Linked DNA regions of Homo sapiens: all the other regions are linked to region 2. The links are contacts of gene promoters, found by promoter capture Hi-C in blood cells and fetal thymus (Javierre and others, 2016). All regions are on one chromosome and are shown on one strand. Each heading gives the region's core, a stretch centred on a gene start or on the middle of the fragment in contact. The rest is flanking DNA. Distances are from core to core; before and after follow the strand shown.

The links. The method cuts DNA at HindIII sites, captures the fragments that hold promoters and counts their contacts. A CHiCAGO score of 5 or more calls a contact.
Region 1: a contact is called between a fragment that was not itself captured here and the fragment with the promoter of GJA5 in region 2, in 5 of 17 cell types (erythroblasts, total B cells, activated CD4 T cells and 2 more). The highest score is 5.7, in erythroblasts.
Region 3: a contact is called between a fragment that was not itself captured here and the fragment with the promoter of GJA5 in region 2, in 10 of 17 cell types (fetal thymus, activated CD4 T cells, total CD4 T cells and 7 more). The highest score is 8.1, in fetal thymus.
Region 4: a fragment that was not itself captured here is called in contact with the fragment with the promoter of GJA5 in region 2 in 2 of 17 cell types (erythroblasts and fetal thymus); the score reaches 6.8 in erythroblasts.
Region 5: a contact is called between a fragment that was not itself captured here and the fragment with the promoter of GJA5 in region 2, in 1 of 17 cell types (fetal thymus). The highest score is 5.3, in fetal thymus.
Region 6: a fragment that was not itself captured here is called in contact with the fragment with the promoter of GJA5 in region 2 in 2 of 17 cell types (erythroblasts and fetal thymus); the score reaches 6.8 in erythroblasts.

What each region holds. Positions count from the first base shown.
Region 1 is chr1:147,303,567-147,306,266 of GRCh38, reverse strand. No RefSeq gene overlaps it. Among named protein-coding and RNA genes, the nearest start is that of CHD1L, 62 kb to the right of the region's middle. The HindIII fragment of the contact is 1,677 bases long and covers 545-2,221 here.
Region 2 is chr1:147,759,332-147,762,031 of GRCh38, reverse strand. It overlaps GJA5 (gap junction protein alpha 5), which reads left to right and starts at 1,430. Exons shown (of 2, transcript NM_181703.4): 1 at 1,430-1,533. All of the region lies in intron 1 of LOC102723321 (a long non-coding RNA gene), which reads right to left. The HindIII fragment of the contact is 9,872 bases long and covers 1-2,700 here.
Region 3 is chr1:147,466,184-147,468,883 of GRCh38, reverse strand. The region is part of intron 3 of LINC00624 (long intergenic non-protein coding RNA 624); the gene reads left to right. Among named protein-coding and RNA genes, the nearest start is that of LINC00624, 50 kb to the left of the region's middle. The HindIII fragment of the contact is 1,006 bases long and covers 826-1,831 here.
Region 4 is chr1:147,333,879-147,336,578 of GRCh38, reverse strand. No RefSeq gene overlaps it. Among named protein-coding and RNA genes, the nearest start is that of CHD1L, 93 kb to the right of the region's middle. RefSeq lists an enhancer at 1-376. The HindIII fragment of the contact is 890 bases long and covers 943-1,832 here.
Region 5 is chr1:147,447,237-147,449,936 of GRCh38, reverse strand. All of the region lies in intron 3 of LINC00624 (long intergenic non-protein coding RNA 624), which reads left to right. Among named protein-coding and RNA genes, the nearest start is that of LINC00624, 69 kb to the left of the region's middle. The HindIII fragment of the contact is 415 bases long and covers 1,131-1,545 here.
Region 6 is chr1:147,411,513-147,414,212 of GRCh38, reverse strand. All of the region lies in intron 3 of LINC00624 (long intergenic non-protein coding RNA 624), which reads left to right. Among named protein-coding and RNA genes, the nearest start is that of LINC00624, 110 kb to the left of the region's middle. The HindIII fragment of the contact is 943 bases long and covers 952-1,894 here.

The sequences.
Region 1 (2,700 bases), core at 134-2,633, 460 kb after region 2:
AGAAGGAATGGTACCAGCTCCTTCTTGTACCTCTGGTAGAATTCGGCTGTGAATCCATCTGGTCCTGGACTTAAAGTCTGTTTTATCAGAGACTAGGATTGCAAACCCTGCTTCTTTTGCTTTCCATTTGCTTGGTAAATATTCCTTCATCCCTTTATTTTGAGCCCATGTGTGTCTTTGCATATGAAATGGGTCTCCTGAATACAGCACACCGATGGGTCTTGACTCTATCCAATTTGCCAGTCTGCGTCTTTCAATTGGGGCATTTAGCCCATTTACGTTTATTGTTAATATTGTTATGTGTGAATCTGATCCTGTTGTCATGATGTTAGCTGGTTATTTTGCACATTAGTTGATGCAGTTTCTTCATAGTGTTATTGGTCTTTATATTTTGGCATGTTTTTGCAGTAGCTGGTACTGATTTTTTCCTTTCCATATTTAGTGCTTCCTTCAGGAATTCCTGTAAGGCAGGACTGGTGGTGACAAAATCCCTCAGCATTTGCTTGTCTGGAAAGGATTTTATTTCTCCTTCACTGATCAAGCTTAGTTTGTCTCGATATAAAATTCTGGGTTGAAAGTTATTTTCTTTAAGAATGTTGAATATTGGCCCCCACTCTCTTCTGGCTTGTGGCGTTTCCGCAGAGAGATCCACTGTTAAGTCTGATGGGCTTCCCTTTATGGGTAACCTGACCTTTCTCTCTGGCTGCCCTTAACATTATTTCCTTCATTTCAGTCTTGGTGAATCTCACAATTATGTGTCTTGGGGTTGCTCTTCTCAAGGAGTATCTTAGTGGTGTTGTCTGTATTTCCTGAATTTGAATGTTGCCCTGTCTCACTAATTTGGGGAAGTTCTCCTGGATAATATCCTGAAGTGTGTTTTCCAACTTGGTTCCATTCTCCATCACTTTCAGGTACACCAATCAATCGTAGGTTTGGTCTTTTCACATAGTCTCATATGTCTTGGGAGGCTTTGTTCATTCCTTTTCATTTTTTCTCTAATCTTGTTTTCACGCTTTATTTCACTAAGTTGATCTTCAATCTCTGATATCCTTTCTTCCGCTTGACCAATTTGGCTACTGATACTTGTGTATGCTTCATGAAATTCTCATGCTGTGTTTTTCAGTTTCATTGGGTCATTCATGTTCTTTTCTAAACCGGTTATTCTCGTTAGCATTTCCTATAACCTTTTATCAAGGTTTCTTAGCTTCCTTGCATTGGGTTAGAACATGCTCCTTTAGCTCAGAGGAGTGTTATTACCCACCTTCTGAAGCCTACTTCTGTCAATTCATCAAACTCATTCTCCATCCAGTTTTGGTCCCTTGCTGGTGAGGAGTTGTGATCCTTTCAAAGAGAAGAGGCATTGTGGTTTTTGGAATTTTCAGCATTTCTGCACTGGTTTTTCCTTATCTTCATGGATTTATGTACCTTTGATGTTTGATGCTGAGGACCTTTGGATGGGGTTTTTGCATGGACATCCTTTTTGTTGATGTTGATATTATTGCTTTCTATTAGTTTTCCTTCTAACAGTCAGGCCCCTCTTCTGCAGGTCTGCTGGAGTTTGCTGGAGGTCCACTCCAGACCCTGTTTGCCTGGGTCTGCAGAGCCTGCAGAGCCTGCAGAACAGCAAATATTGCTACCTGTTTCTTTCTCTCAAAGCTTCATCCCAGAGAGGCACAAGCCTTACTATGAATACTGCTGTAATAAACAAGTGAATGCAGGTTTTCCTTTGATATATTGCTTCATTTTCCTTTAGTAGATACCTAGTGGTGGGACTGCTAGATTAAATGGTAATTCTATTTGAGTTTTTTGAGAAATCTCCATGCTGTTTTCCATAGTGGTTGTACTAGTTTACATTCCCACCCACAGTGAATAAGAGTTCCCTTTTCTCTGCATTCTTGCCAGCATTTTTTTTTGTCTTTTTAATGGTAGCCATTCTGACTAGGGTAAGATATTATCTCATTGTGGTTTTGATTTGCATTTACCTGATGATTAGTGGTGTTAAGCATTTTTCTTTTACCTCTTGGCCATTTGTATGTCTTCTTTTGAGAGTTGTCTATTATGTCCTTTGTCCACTTTTTTATTCTTTTGTTGTTAACTGTTGAGTTGTTTGAGTTCCTTGTGTATTCTGGATATTAGTCACCTGTCAAATGAATGGCTTGCAAATATTTTCTCCCATTTAATAGGTTGTCTCTTCACTCATTTATTCTGCTGTAGAGAAGCTTTTTAGTTTAATTAAGTCCCATTTTTCTGTTTTTGGTTTTGTTCCCTGTGCTTTTGAGGTCTTAAGTCATACATTCTTTGCCTAGAACAATATCCAAGAGAGTTTTCCCTAGATTTGCTTCTAGTATTTTTATAGTTTTGGGTCTTATATTTAAAGTCTTTAATGCACTTTGAATTTACTTGGTGTATGGTGAGAGGTAAGGGGTCCAGTTTCATTCTTCTGCATGTGGCCATCCAATTTTCCCAGCACTATTTGTTGAAGATAGTCTTTTTTCCCCAGTGTAAGATCTTGTTGGCTTTGTTGAAGATCAGCTGGCTGCAAATACATGGCTTTATTTCTGGATCCTCTATTCTGTTCCATTGGTCTATGTGTTTATTTTTATACTAATACCATGATGTTTTGGTTACTATAGCTTTGTAACATATTTTGAAGTCAGGTTATGTGATGTCTCCAGTTTTGTTCTTTTTGCTCAGGATTGC
Region 2 (2,700 bases), core at 181-2,680:
TAGTATGTCCATTTTGCAGGTGAGGAAAGTGGAACACAGATTGAATCATTTATCTAAGCCCAGCAGATGGTAATAGAAATTTGTCAAACCTCAGTAAGCTAACTCCTGCATCTGTCTTTTCTTAACCCTACATGGTCTTTTTCTCCATTTCCAACTCTCCCTTGTCCTTCCCTTTTCTTCTCTTCTTTTTATTCCTCCCCTTCTCTCCCTCCCTCTTTTTCTCAGACATTTACCATAGTTCAGTCACTGCACGTGTGTGGCTGACCCTGAAGGTGCTGAACACTGTACATGTGCCCAGAAGAGAGGACAGACAATTCAAACTCTTATCTAATCAGCCATTTTCCTTTTGAGCACATGCTCCACAATTTTCCACATTTGGAGGCTGAAAGAGGGGGCGCTTCGCCACCTAAGGAAATGGGGCAGATGTCTGATCACAAATGACAGGAAAGGCCTCAAGACCTGCATGGGTCTTTGATATAGAGAGGAGCAGAGATAAGATGCTTTCCGCTCACTCAGGAACTCCCTCATTCCCAGGGACACTGTATACTCTCAAGTTTGGGGACCTGGGGTCTGAGAGAATACAGGGCCAGGAGGTTGGTCCCTGTCAAGGCAACAATCAACTCAAGAGCTGAGGAAGCCTGGACTATGAAATGCACCACCCTGACCCCATCTTTCCCCATAAGCATGAAGAATGTTCAGACAGAAACCAGGAGCACGTTGGCAGCAAAGATATGACGGTCAAAGTTTGAATTTGACAAACCTCTAAGGACCCACCCAAATCTGAGGTTTATGATTCTAAGAAAGGAATATTTATGCTCCATTCCCTCCGAGACGTTTGTCATCCTGTTGGTTAGGAATGGTTAGAGGCTTAAACTGTAAGAACATTCGTTATTCACTAAGTAAGAATTCTGGAGGTAGGGAGCCTCAAGAGTTGCTTCAGAGGCCTCAGGGCACTGGTTGACATTTCTGAGATTCTCTGGACAGCTTTAGACATCTTGGTTCATACAACTCTGTCCACAGGCAGGAAGCGGTGGGGCTAAGTGAGGCTCACTCCTATTCACCGGGGGATGGGAGCACTGTGAGTAGTCTCCCTCCTGTTCACCAGGGGATGGGAGCACTGTGAGTGAGGTTCCCTCTTGTTCACAGGGGGATGGGAGCACTGTGAGTGAGGCTCTCTCCATTTACTGGGGGGTAGAAAAACCTTTTCTGGAGCATTCCCTCTACTTTAGATTCTCCCCATACCTCACCTACCAGAACTAACTGCAGAGGAGATTAAGAAAGTGATACCTGGCTTTTTCACCCTGCCAATGGGAGGCAGGCAAGAAACAGGGAATTGGTTTTCTATTGGGTAGGAAACAACAGTGCCTGTCAGCCCCTCCTTCATTCACTCAACTAAGATATATTAAACACCTACTCTGGGCCAGGCTCTGGTGATACAGAAGAAAAGACAGTCTCCATTTTCAAACAGTCCCTCCTGGGAGAACACAGACAGGCAGAGGATTACAACACAAGGCAGCAAGCACTGGGAGACGAGTAAGTGTCCCGGGGGCCATCACAGGAGCTGAAGAGGCTCAGCTTGAGGGAGGAGGGAGGGCTGGAGGAGGCAATGACTGGGTTAAGTTTTGAAAGGTAAATGGGATTCAGCTAGGGGTGAGGGGACATGTAGGGGTACAGAAGGAGGGCATTTGGGAAGACTTGGCATGGCTGGACAAAAGGAACTCATGTGGACAGGCAGGAACAGGCTGGAAAAGCAGACAAAGGCCAGATGAGGGAGGATTTTGTAAGGGACATAAAGTTTTGGGACATTTATTCTGGACATAAGGGTGGGCAGATCTGTGTGTGGGAACCTTATTTAAATGAGACACAGAAACTTAGCAGCAGGGCGAGCTGAGCTGTGTGGCTGGAATGGCTGTGTTGCACCGAGGCATGGGAGATCAACATTGCCTTACCAGCCAGGGGAAGTGAGCACTCATCTGTGATACTGTTAGCTGGTGTGACCAAAGCACACTTTTTGTTTGCCACCTCCCAACACAGCTGGTCCATGCTGGATGGTTCTGATTTTTGCAGAGTGCTTCCTGAGGGGCCAAATTTGCCAATCCCATCCTCACTCTTTCCTCCTCCACCTAGTTCTGCCCTCTGGAGCCATAAAAAAATTCCTTTTCCATCCAACAGCCATTTAAACATTTGGAACAGTTGTGGAATGATTTTCAGAATATCACACACCTCATATCATTTAATCCTCAGAATTCTCTGGTGTAGCTATTCCCATCCCCATTCGATAAATGAAGAAACAGACTCAGTGAGGTAAATGCCCAGAGTCACATTTGCAGACCCCAGTCTTGTGTTCTTTTTAATACTCGTGTTTCTCCAGGTGCGGTCCCTCACCGCCTGCATCAGAATTACTTGGGCTGCTTGTTGTAAATCCAGATTCCTGGGGGCCATCCCAGACCTCCTGAAGTAGAATTACTGGGGCAAGAGCAGAATCCATATTGTAACACACACCACGATTTCTAGATCCGTTAAAGTGTGGGAGCCATGCTCTAATTTTGCTAATATGGCTACTTTGAATCTTCTCTTTCTTTTTATTTTTGCTGGGAAAGGAGAGCGAGCTTTTCGTTGGTTGCTTTGACTTCTAAGTTGCATTTTCTTAAAGAACCCATTGGATGGATGGATCAGTGGAATCCCAGAACATGATAGACA
Region 3 (2,700 bases), core at 79-2,578, 290 kb after region 2:
TCCTCAGTAGGTGGGACCTCCTAACCAGGGTCTCCAGCCACCTCCTACAGGCACTTTTGGGCTGGCAACAGGCCCATACCTTCCTGGGATGGAGCTTCCAGAGGGAGGGGCAGGCTACTGTCTTTGCTGTATTGCAGCCTTTACTGATGATATCTCCACTTACTGGAAAATTCAAGGCAACTAGGAACTGCAGAGGGACCCCAGCATACCACAGCAGCCCTATGGAAAACTGGCCAGAACAAATGGGTGCCTATTCCCACATCTCCTCACTGGGCAGGTTCTCCAGGGCTTCCAGCCACCCACTGCCAGAGCTATTGAGCCAGTAGCAACTCAGCAACTCCCTGGACAGAGCCTCCAGGGGCAACTGAAAGCTTCCCTGCCACTGCCTCTGCAGTAGAACTGCCCTTGCTGCCCTCAGACTAATGAAGGAACAAAGGCTTTAAGTGCTTTATCCATACCTCCAACAGGCTGCAGTCAGTTTAAGAAGAGGAGGTCAGTCCATCTTCCATCTTTCGGGTGGAGCCCTCAGGAGACAAGCAAAAGACCCTTGGTCAAAACCACTACTAAGGTCCCTTCCTCTGCTGCCTCTGAGATGGGGAAGAATCATAAATGCTGAGATCATCCCAGAGCTACAGTGGGCAGTCCAGGAGTGACAAGCCGTGATCTACAGTCAGCACTTAAGGGGGAGAGGAAGCCACGTTCCCAGAGGATTGAGAGGAAATATAGCTGCCACTGTGGGGAACCATAGGGGAGCTACACAACTGAGTGAGTCTACCAACTGACCCGTAAGCCTAAATGCCACCTACTGGATCACACCACAAAGCTTCAACTTAAAAAAATGCCTCACTAACATACCCCCCTGTGAAACCAGAGACAAGAAATCAGCTTCAGATAGAGACCCTGCACAAGGCCTCAGCCAGGTGAAAACATCCAGAAGTCTATTGACTGTAATCAATCTATACTACAGTTAAAGGAACACCCATATGCAGAAATGAGAAAGAACGAATGCAAGAACTCTGGTAACTCAAATGACCAGAGTTTTGTATGGCCTCAAAATGACTGTACCAGTTCTCCAATAAGAACTGGCTGGGATAACAAATAAAATTTAGAATATGGATAGGAATGAAGATCATTGAGATTCAGGAGAACAGCGAAACCCAATCCAAGGAAAATAAGAATCACAATAAAGCAATATAGGAGCTGAAGGACGAAGTAGGTGGTATAAAAAAGAACCTAACAGGTCTGACAGAGCTGATCAACACAATGCAATAATTTCACAATGCAGTCACAAGTATTAACAGCAGAATAAACCAAACTGAAGAAAGAATCTCAGAATTTGAAGACTAGTTCTCTGAAGTAAGACAGACAAAAATAAAGAAAAAGGAATAAAAATGAAAGAACAAACCCTCTAAGAAGTATGGGATTACGTAAAGAGGCCAGATCTACACAAATCATTGGCATCCCTGAAAAGGAGAGGGAGAAAGCAAATAACTTGGAAAACATTTCAGGATATCATTCACGAAAACTTCCCCAACCTTGCTAGAGAGGCCAATAGTCAGATTCAGGAAATACAGAGAATTTCTGCAAGACTCTATACAAGATTATCTCGAAGACACATAATTGTCAGATTTTCCAAGATTAAAATGCCAGAAAGAATGTTAAAGGCAGCTAGAGAGAAAGGGCAAGTTACCAACAAAGAGAACACTATCAGGCTAACAGTAGATCTTTCAGCTAAAGCCCTGTAAGCCAGACAAGATTGGGGAGCCTATATTCAACATTTTTAAAGAAAAAAATCTTCAACCAAAAATTTCATGTCTAGCCAAACTAAGCTTCCTAAGCAAAGGAGAAATATCCTTTTCAGATAAGCATATGTTGAAAAAGTTCATTACCACCAGACCTGCATTACAAGAGATTTTGAAAGGAGCATTTAACATAGGAAGGAAAGATTGCTACCAACTAATACAAAAACAGTCTTAAACACATAGACCAACGTCACTGTAAAGCAACCACACAAACAAGTCAACACAATAACCAGCTAACAACACAATGACAGGATCAGATTCACATCTGTCAGTAATAACCTTCAATGTAAATGAGCTAACCGCCCCCACTTAAAAGGCACAGAGTGGCAACCTGGATAAAAAAGCAAAACCCAATGGTATGCTGTCTTCAAGAGACACATTTCACACGAAATGACACCCATAGGCTCAAAATTGAAGGATGGAGGAAATCATTTGCTTAGTAAGGTTGTAATTTGATTACTAAGGTTGTAATTTGATTAAAGGTTGTAATCCTAATTTCAGGCAAAACAGACTTCAAATCAACAAAGATGAAAAAAAGACAAGGACATTACATAATGGTAAAGGGTTCAATTCAACGAGAAGATCTAACTATTCTAAATACATATGCACCCAACACAGGAGCACCTGGATTCATAAAGGAAGTTCTTAGAGACCTACGAAGAGACATAGACTTCAACACAGTATCAGTGGGAGACTTCAACACTCCACTGACAGTATTAGACAGATCATTGAGTGTATTGACTGTAATAGGCAGAAAATTAACAAACACATTCAAGACCTGAACTCAACATTGGACCAGATGGATCTGACCTCTATACAACTCTCCACCCCAAAACAAGAGAATATACATTCTTCTCATTGCCACATGGCACATACTCTAAAATTGACCACTTACTTG
Region 4 (2,700 bases), core at 138-2,637, 430 kb after region 2:
AGACATTTCTATCACAAAGTACAAGCATTTGCAAGTCTATGTGGGAACTCCATGAATTTGCAGAATGCTGTTTGATAAAGAAACCACTCAGCCCTTAACAGCATGTCCACGTTACCAAAGCATTTGAATCAGTTCACCATAAGGCAGTAAGCTCTCCTTTAAAAGGCTCATCCTTCACAGTTCTTGGCTGTTTGAATTTTCTCTTTCCTTCGTCACCCTTAAACTTAATTACACAGCAGCTGAAAAAGAAGACCTCTCTTGACCAAAATTTAAGGATAAAAATGTGGGATTATACAACAAATAACTATAATAAAATGTGGTCACTCTAAAATCCACACAAGAATAAAGAACACAGGAAAAAGGGGAAACACAGGAAAAAGGGCAATTTATTTTGTCCTAGGGACTTGGAAGAGGAAGAGTTGGTTAAAGCTTCATAAAAGAGAAAATGTTTCAGCTGTAATTTGTCTTCCTCCTCTATTCCTAAATGATAAATTATATTCTTTTTGGGAAATTAAAAAAATACATTTTTTAATTACAAGAAAAATATATATTTACAGAAATTACAAAAGCACCATAAGAGTTTGGATTCCAGTCCTCCACTCTTCACGGGTGAGCAACCATGAAGCTTCTGAGGACACTCTGTAATCTTGAGTACAGGGGTTTTGGAAACCAAGTGATGAAGACAGCATTTGTTATAATCAGGCCTTTAAAAACAAAACACTGTAAAGAACACTAAATGGGAATGGGAAAGTGGGAAGAGAGGGAAACTGTCCAGCTAATTCATTTGTAACTCTTGCCAGCCTCAGTCCAGACTTGCCAGAGGATCTTTGCTAGGTTATGGATTTTAGGTGTTTTCATTAAGGACTATCTGGAATAGAGCCTCATTCCTCCTCTACCCCAGAAGGCAACAGTCACTGATTCACACTTCATATCCCTTAAGCTTGCATGACTTAATTTCTTTCTTCCCATTAAGTTAGAATTAAAAAAAAACTCTTATTAGTTTCCTCCAAGGGTTTTGGAAAGATAAAGGAAACTGTCAAGTCTTAAGAGTGTCATAAACCTTGGGGACACACATGGCACTCAAATACTAGAGATGATGTCTAATGATACCATTTTCAAAAATGTCTTTCATTATTTTGCCATGTCCTGAAATCCCATAAAAGCATAACAGAAATGAGTTTGGGATTTTACTAAATTAAAATTTGTAAAGAAGGAGGAAAAGGATGATAATGATAATGTCGTTGATTTTCATTATTGTTCATTGCAAATTCCACGAAAAAGTAAAATATTAGTCAAGATGCAAAATTAGATGACCCTGTAGTCAAGAAGGCAAGGTAAGGTGCTTAAAATTTAACGAGACTGATGAAAGCAGAAAGAACATCAATCAAAATCTCAAGTTGTACATTGGCAGCACTTTCTGTGCTATCTCCCAAGTTTTTCTAGGGCTCCACCTATTACACTTGGAATCACCGACATTGCTGAAAGCATTTTAAAGGCATTAATTATCTAACTTACTGTCTTAATTACCTATGCTCATCTCAGGAGAATTGCAAAGGGATAGGCATCAGGAACACTTCTTTGGTGAGAGAAAACCAAGTGACAAAAGAGAAGCGTTTGTCCTAACACATCTAAAAGGCAGGTTGGAAATAACAGGTAGACTCAAGTTTGGTTCAGCCCAAATTAAAAAAAAATGCCATTCTCCTCATGCATTGACACCAAAATATTCACCTTCACCTACAAAATGATATTTTTTTCTGGCATGATTTTTTTCCCTTCGTTCAGCCTCAGAGATAATACTAATGATTACCAGTGATGGTAGTGAAAGCCAAGCTTAATCACCATAATTGACAATTAAGTTGGGTAACAACACAGAGACAGGTGATTTCACACAAGGCTAATGAAAATGGGCTATTAAAATCCACACACGTTTGGCAGCAATTATGAGCTCCTGGAGCCATTTGCTTTGAAATGTGCACATTTCACAGGTGGCTGCCTGCCAACAAGACAACTTTGAGCAGGACCGAGAAAGCAAGAGGAAAAGACAGAGTTGCCGGAGATTTTCTTAAGTGCCATTGCTTTTCAGTGGCTTGCTGAATCCTTATCACTACAGGCCAGATATTTTAAAGCCAAAGAAATATGCAAAGTTCACAGCTGCAGAGAATGACAGACATCCCATTTTCCTATAGAACCACGATGGAATTGGCAGAGGACAAGGGAGTGGGCACTAGCGAATACAGAAGGGCAAAGTAGAGAGGATTCCATGAAATAAGTGCTGGACCATGTAAGAGAGGCCTGGAGCCTGGATGTCTTGTCTGGAGTACACAGAAGATACTTAACAGTTTTCACAAAATGTGAAATGGAAGTAATAATCCCTGCTTCCCAAATATGATAGTATGGTTAAATGAGTTCAGTTCCTTGAAGGGCACTTGAATTCAGAGGCTGAGGTTACTTTGCTGCAGTTTCATGCATCTCCTAGCTCCCTGCTCTTACTCTCTTATATCAGGATGCCACCATTCTGCTCAAAGCCCCTCTCCTTTAAGCTCTTTACTGTCTGAATATGCCAGTTAGTAGGGAAGTTAGTCAACTTTTTTTAATGACAGGAAACCAAATAACAAACAGTGGTGAGAACTTGCCTGAAAATAGACTGGGAATCACATCTGTATTCAAATACAATAGTCGAATCTTGTTTTTTAGCCACTC
Region 5 (2,700 bases), core at 89-2,588, 310 kb after region 2:
GTATATACTCAGTAATGGATGGCTGGGTCAAATGTTATTTTTAGTTCTAGATCCTTGAGGAATCACCACACTGTCTTTCACAATGGTTGAACTAGTTTACAGTCCCACCAACAGTGTAAAAGTGTTCCTATTTCTCCACATCCTCTCCAGCACCTGTTGTTTCCTGACTTTTTAATGATGGCCATTCTAACTGGTGTGAGATGGTATCTCACTGTGGTTTTGATTTGCATTTCTCTGACGGCCAGTGATGATGAGCATTTTTTCATGTGTCTGTTGGCTGCGTAAATGTCTTCTTTTGAGAAGTGTCTGTTCATATTCTTCACCCAGTTTTTGATGGGGTTGTTTGATTTTTTTCTTGTAAATTTGTTTCAGTTCCTTGTAGATTCTGGATATTAGCCCTTTGTCAGATGGGTAGATTGCAAAAATTTTCTCCCCTTCTGTAGGTTGCCTGTTCACTCTGATGGTAGGGAAACTGATGCTTCAAGTTACCTGGCTACTATATTAGGGACTGGGATTTAACCCATGTCCATCTGACTCTAAAGGCCATACTCTTTCCAATTCCCTGTTCTGCATTCCATAGTTCCATAAAATAAAGAGAGAGAGAAAGGTCCAAATAAGAAAAATACCTACCTCTTTTCAATCTCCTGAGAATTGGTTCAATCAGCAGCAACAACGAAACAAAACAAGTCAAAACTAAAGTTAATGCTAACACTGATCAAATGAATTTCTTGGAATTAAAAAAGGATGAAATTATTGACTTATTTTTCTACCAATTATATTTACCCTATCAGTCTCATGATGAGACCATATAGTATTTATTGGGCACATATTTCTCAATATCTGTGTCTGCCTGAAACATGACATAGATTTGCATTTTTTAACCTGTGTTAACTTTGACAAGAGGGTAACTCTATGGAGATCTCACAGAAAATTGCACTCCTCCCAAGCCTATGCCAGAGGTAGCATAGAGCCACTGGCAAATTCTGAGCCCCCTCTCATGAACACATATGTCAGAGTGGAGAAAGACTGGCCTGCAATGCCCTACCTATGAGGTGCCTTAGGTCCTTGACCCTGGTATCACAGAGCCTGATACTCCCAGTGGCATCCAAGCTGAACGGGGACCCAAAGCTTGGGGCTCAAAGACTGTTCACGAACAACTCAGGTGGAAGTCAGGGGAACAGGAAAGATATAAAATCCAGCAGTTTAGTCAGACCTACAGAGAAAGGTTAAGAAGGGACATCTCAGCTGACCTCTGGAGGACATTTCTGTTCAACCGTTCTGGTGCAAACATCTTAGACACCTGAGGAAAAGAACAGCCTGTTGGGGCATAAATGTGGCGCCATGGCCCTGTAAGAGCAATGGTCCCAATGGAGACCATGTGGCACGTTCTGCTCAGTTCCCAGCCAGAGAGCAGCAATCCTGCTTCTTTCTTTCCCAATCAGTAATCTCTAAGGCAAATGATTGGGGATGAAATTATTTACAAATAACTTTAAATGTATATTTATAATAAAAAGAATCACAGGTAAAGTAAATCATTCGCAAGCTTCAAGCCTTTATTATAGTCAATAAATTGCTTGCAACACACCTCTCCCAAACATCAATGTGTTGCCACATAAAGATGAGAACCCCTGGTTAGCGAATAAATGTTTCCAAATATATGTTTTGTATGAATTTAATCAAATTTCTTTAAACAATTATTTTGTCTGCACCTATTGTTGTACTGTAATGTGTAATAGTGGAAATATATCCCTATGCTTTCTCCCAAAAAATTATTCCTTTCTGTCCTGCTTGTCAAAAATAGAATACTAATACTTTGCATTTTGTATTATGTCATAAAAATTTTTTCACTTATATTATCTCACTTAAATAACTCAGGCATTCCTTAGGTTCTGGAGTGGATAATTTCTAAAGTAAGTTCTACTCTAATTCTATAAGTTGTACTGTTGAAATTTATACACACAGAAAAGATGTTAAAAATACGTCATTACATAAATGTTACCAAAATGGTAATAAAAATATGCACAATATACAGTATGTTATTAAGCGGTAGGTATATCCTGACATTGGGCAGTTTTTCTCAATTGTGATGATAAATAACCTACGTACCACTGAGTCTCACTGAAAGGCTTGGATTTCTGGCTTTGGGGGTGGGGCTTGTACTCCCCACACTACTATGGAAAGAATACTCTTTGGTACAACTGGCTATTGAACTCCATGCATCATGAGGGGGACCTGCCACTCCAGGAGCTGCCTGCAGCGTAGTCATTGCCTAACACAGGAACCAAAAATCCTCTTTGATCACTCTATGATTCCTTCTTCTAGGATGGCCATGTATAAGTGCCTGTGGACTGTCCTTTGGGGACTATCCATCTAATCTCTCTCTAAGTAGATGTTCTGGGACTCCTCCAAGTACAAACACAACTCAAGGGCAGCAGCTTGATTAGAAAGTGTAGAAATGAAGAGCAATTAGTTCTCTCTTGGAATCATTAAGGTCATGGCAGTCATCTTTTCCCAGCATGCAATGAAGAGGTCAGCTTTTTAGCTCTTTGGAGACACTCTGAATGGAATTTGGTACTGGATTTGTTGTCAGGAGTTGTGGTGGCTAAAGCCTGAAAGACAGCCTTGTCCTCCTCCTCGTTAGTGAGTGAAGGGGTATGCATGGATGTGGGCTTATTTGGTTGGATTTTACAACACATGAGG
Region 6 (2,700 bases), core at 174-2,673, 350 kb after region 2:
TCCATTTTAAGAATTAGGTTTTTGCCGGGTGCAGTGGCTCCCACCTGTAATTCCAGCACTTTGGGAGGCCAAGGCAGGCAGATCACTTGGGGCCGGGAGTTCAAGGCCAGGCTAGCCAACATGGTGAAACCCCGTTTCTACTAAAAATATAAAGATTAGCTGGGCATGGTGGCATGTGGCTGTAATCCCAGCTACTTGGGGGGCTGAGGCAAGAGAATTGTTTGAACCCAGGAAGCGGAGGTGGCAGTGAGCCAAGATCATGTCACTGCATTCCTGCCTGGGTGACAGAATGAGATACCTTCTCAAAAAAATAAATAAATAAATAAATAAATAAATAAATAAATAAATAATCAGGTTTTGGAACTTCTTCCATAATGGAATAAAAGTAACCAGATTTGCTTTTCTGTCTTAATAACTAAAAACTTGGGGGAAAAGATAAAACAAAATGTGTTTTCAGATATTAAACAATGAGTGGAATGGGACAGAGAGTACTGAGACAAGGGAAACAAATGAGGTAAACCCTATGAATGCACCAGCTCACTGCATGGAGAGGGTGTCCAGGCCACAGCACAAGGAGGGGGTACATAAGTGGAGCCCAGTAGTCTCCCTTTATTAATAAGAGAAAATTCAGAGTTTGGGGGAGATCAAGGTACCTAGAATTTGCGTGGCAGAGCCCTGGAGAGGAGATGCACATAAAAAGAGAGTCTCAGAGATCCACAGAATTCCCTCTTCAGCAGAATGCTAATCAGCACATGAGAGCCAAGGAAAAGATTAGAGAGGATCAGTTGGAATAATCTGGAGAGCTCACGCAGGGCTGGGAATAGTTAGTCTTTGCACCAATCAGTGCGCAAAGAAATCCTAACACATACAAAGTAGACTCATTAGATGCCTTAGTAGAGAGGCAAAATTGACACTAGGCAAAAGGCTATTCTAAGCTCACCTAACAAAGCTTAAAAGCTAGTCTTAAAAGGATCAAATTATTTCTGAGTAATTTAACTGTGTCCAAGAACAAAGTCCAAAAATCCTTAAAGGAATACTAAAACTTCTTCATTTAGCTATGTAAAATTCACAGTGTCTGGCGTCAATCCAAAATTTTCAGGCATACAAAGAAGCAGGAAGGGAATACAACCTATATTAAAAAGAAAATATAATTTAAAAGACTCAGTAATGACACAGATTATAGACTTATAAAGCAATGATGTTAAAATAGCTACTATAAATACATTTATATGTTCAAGAAAGTAGAGGAAATTATGTATATGACAAGGAGAGACATTGAAGATATTAAAATATTGAAATTCTAAAGTAAAAATATAATGTTTGAGATACAGTATACACAGGATGAGATTAACAGCAAATTAGATATAGAAAAAGGTTAGTGAATGTGAAGTCATACTAATAGAAAATATCCAAAATGAAATAAGAGGTTGGGCACATTGGCTCATGCCTGTAATCTCAGCTCTTTGAGAGGCTGAGGTGGGAAGATTGCTCAAACCTAGGAGTTTGAGACCATCCTGGGCAACATGGAAAGACTCTTATCTGTACAAAAAAATATGAAAATTAACCAGCCACGTGCCTGTGCCTGTAGTTCCAGCTACTTGGGTGGCTGAGGTAGGAGGATAGCTTGAGCCCTGGAGGTCAAGGCTGCAGTGAGCTGTGATCACGCCATTGCACCCCAGGCTGGACAACAGAGTGAGATTCTGTCTCAAAAAATAAAAAAATAAAAGAAAAAAGGGACTGAAGAGAAATGAGCAGAACATCAGTGAGCTTGGGGACAGCAAGTGCCTTAATATGCATTGGAGCCCAAGAAAGAGAAGGGAACAAAAAATGTGGAAAAACAGTAGCCAAAATTTCCAATTTTATGAAATTTTTAAGCCCCCAAATTCAAGAAGCTTAACAAACCCCAAACAAGGCACAGAAAGAAAACTACACCATGCAAATCATAATCAAATTGGTCAAAACTAGTGATAGAAAATTTTAAAAGCAACTAGGAAAAAACGCACATTACATGCAGAAGAATAGAGATGAGAATGACAGCTGACTTCTCATCCAAGCAATGCAAGCCAAAAGACTGTATTGTTTATTTGTTTCCTTCCAATGTTTTAAGGAGCAACAGCTTGAAAGGAAACAAACTTGTCAACCTAAAAGTCTAACCAACATAAATATATTTCAAAAACAAGGTTAGGGACAACACTTTCAGAATGTCAGGGTGAGGACCTCAGTGAATCCTCTTCCCACAAAAGCAACAAAAATACTGGCAAAACACCAATAGAAACCAACCATTTTAAAACTATGAAAATTAACCAAAGGCACAGAACACACTGAAAAGCATTCACTCAAATATAACTGCCGAGCTTCATAAGAACAGTGGGGTCTATGGTGCTTTAACTTGGAACTATTCCCACGTACCCAACCCCTAGTACCAGGGTGGTAGCTGTGAAGAGCTGGCAGCCAGTGAAGAAGTTTGACCTGTTTTGAGCTTTGTGAAAACCCCCATCCTCAGAGCACTGTCAATATTTTTATAATATTTCTCCTTGACTTGTACATGGCCATTCTGTCCGTCTTCACATTGTCCTCCCTGTGTGCATATCTGTGTACAAATTTCATTTTCCTGTAAGATTACCAGTCACATTGGATTAGAATTCACTCTAATGACTTCATTTTAACTTAATTACCTTTTTTAAAACCCTGTTTCCAAAA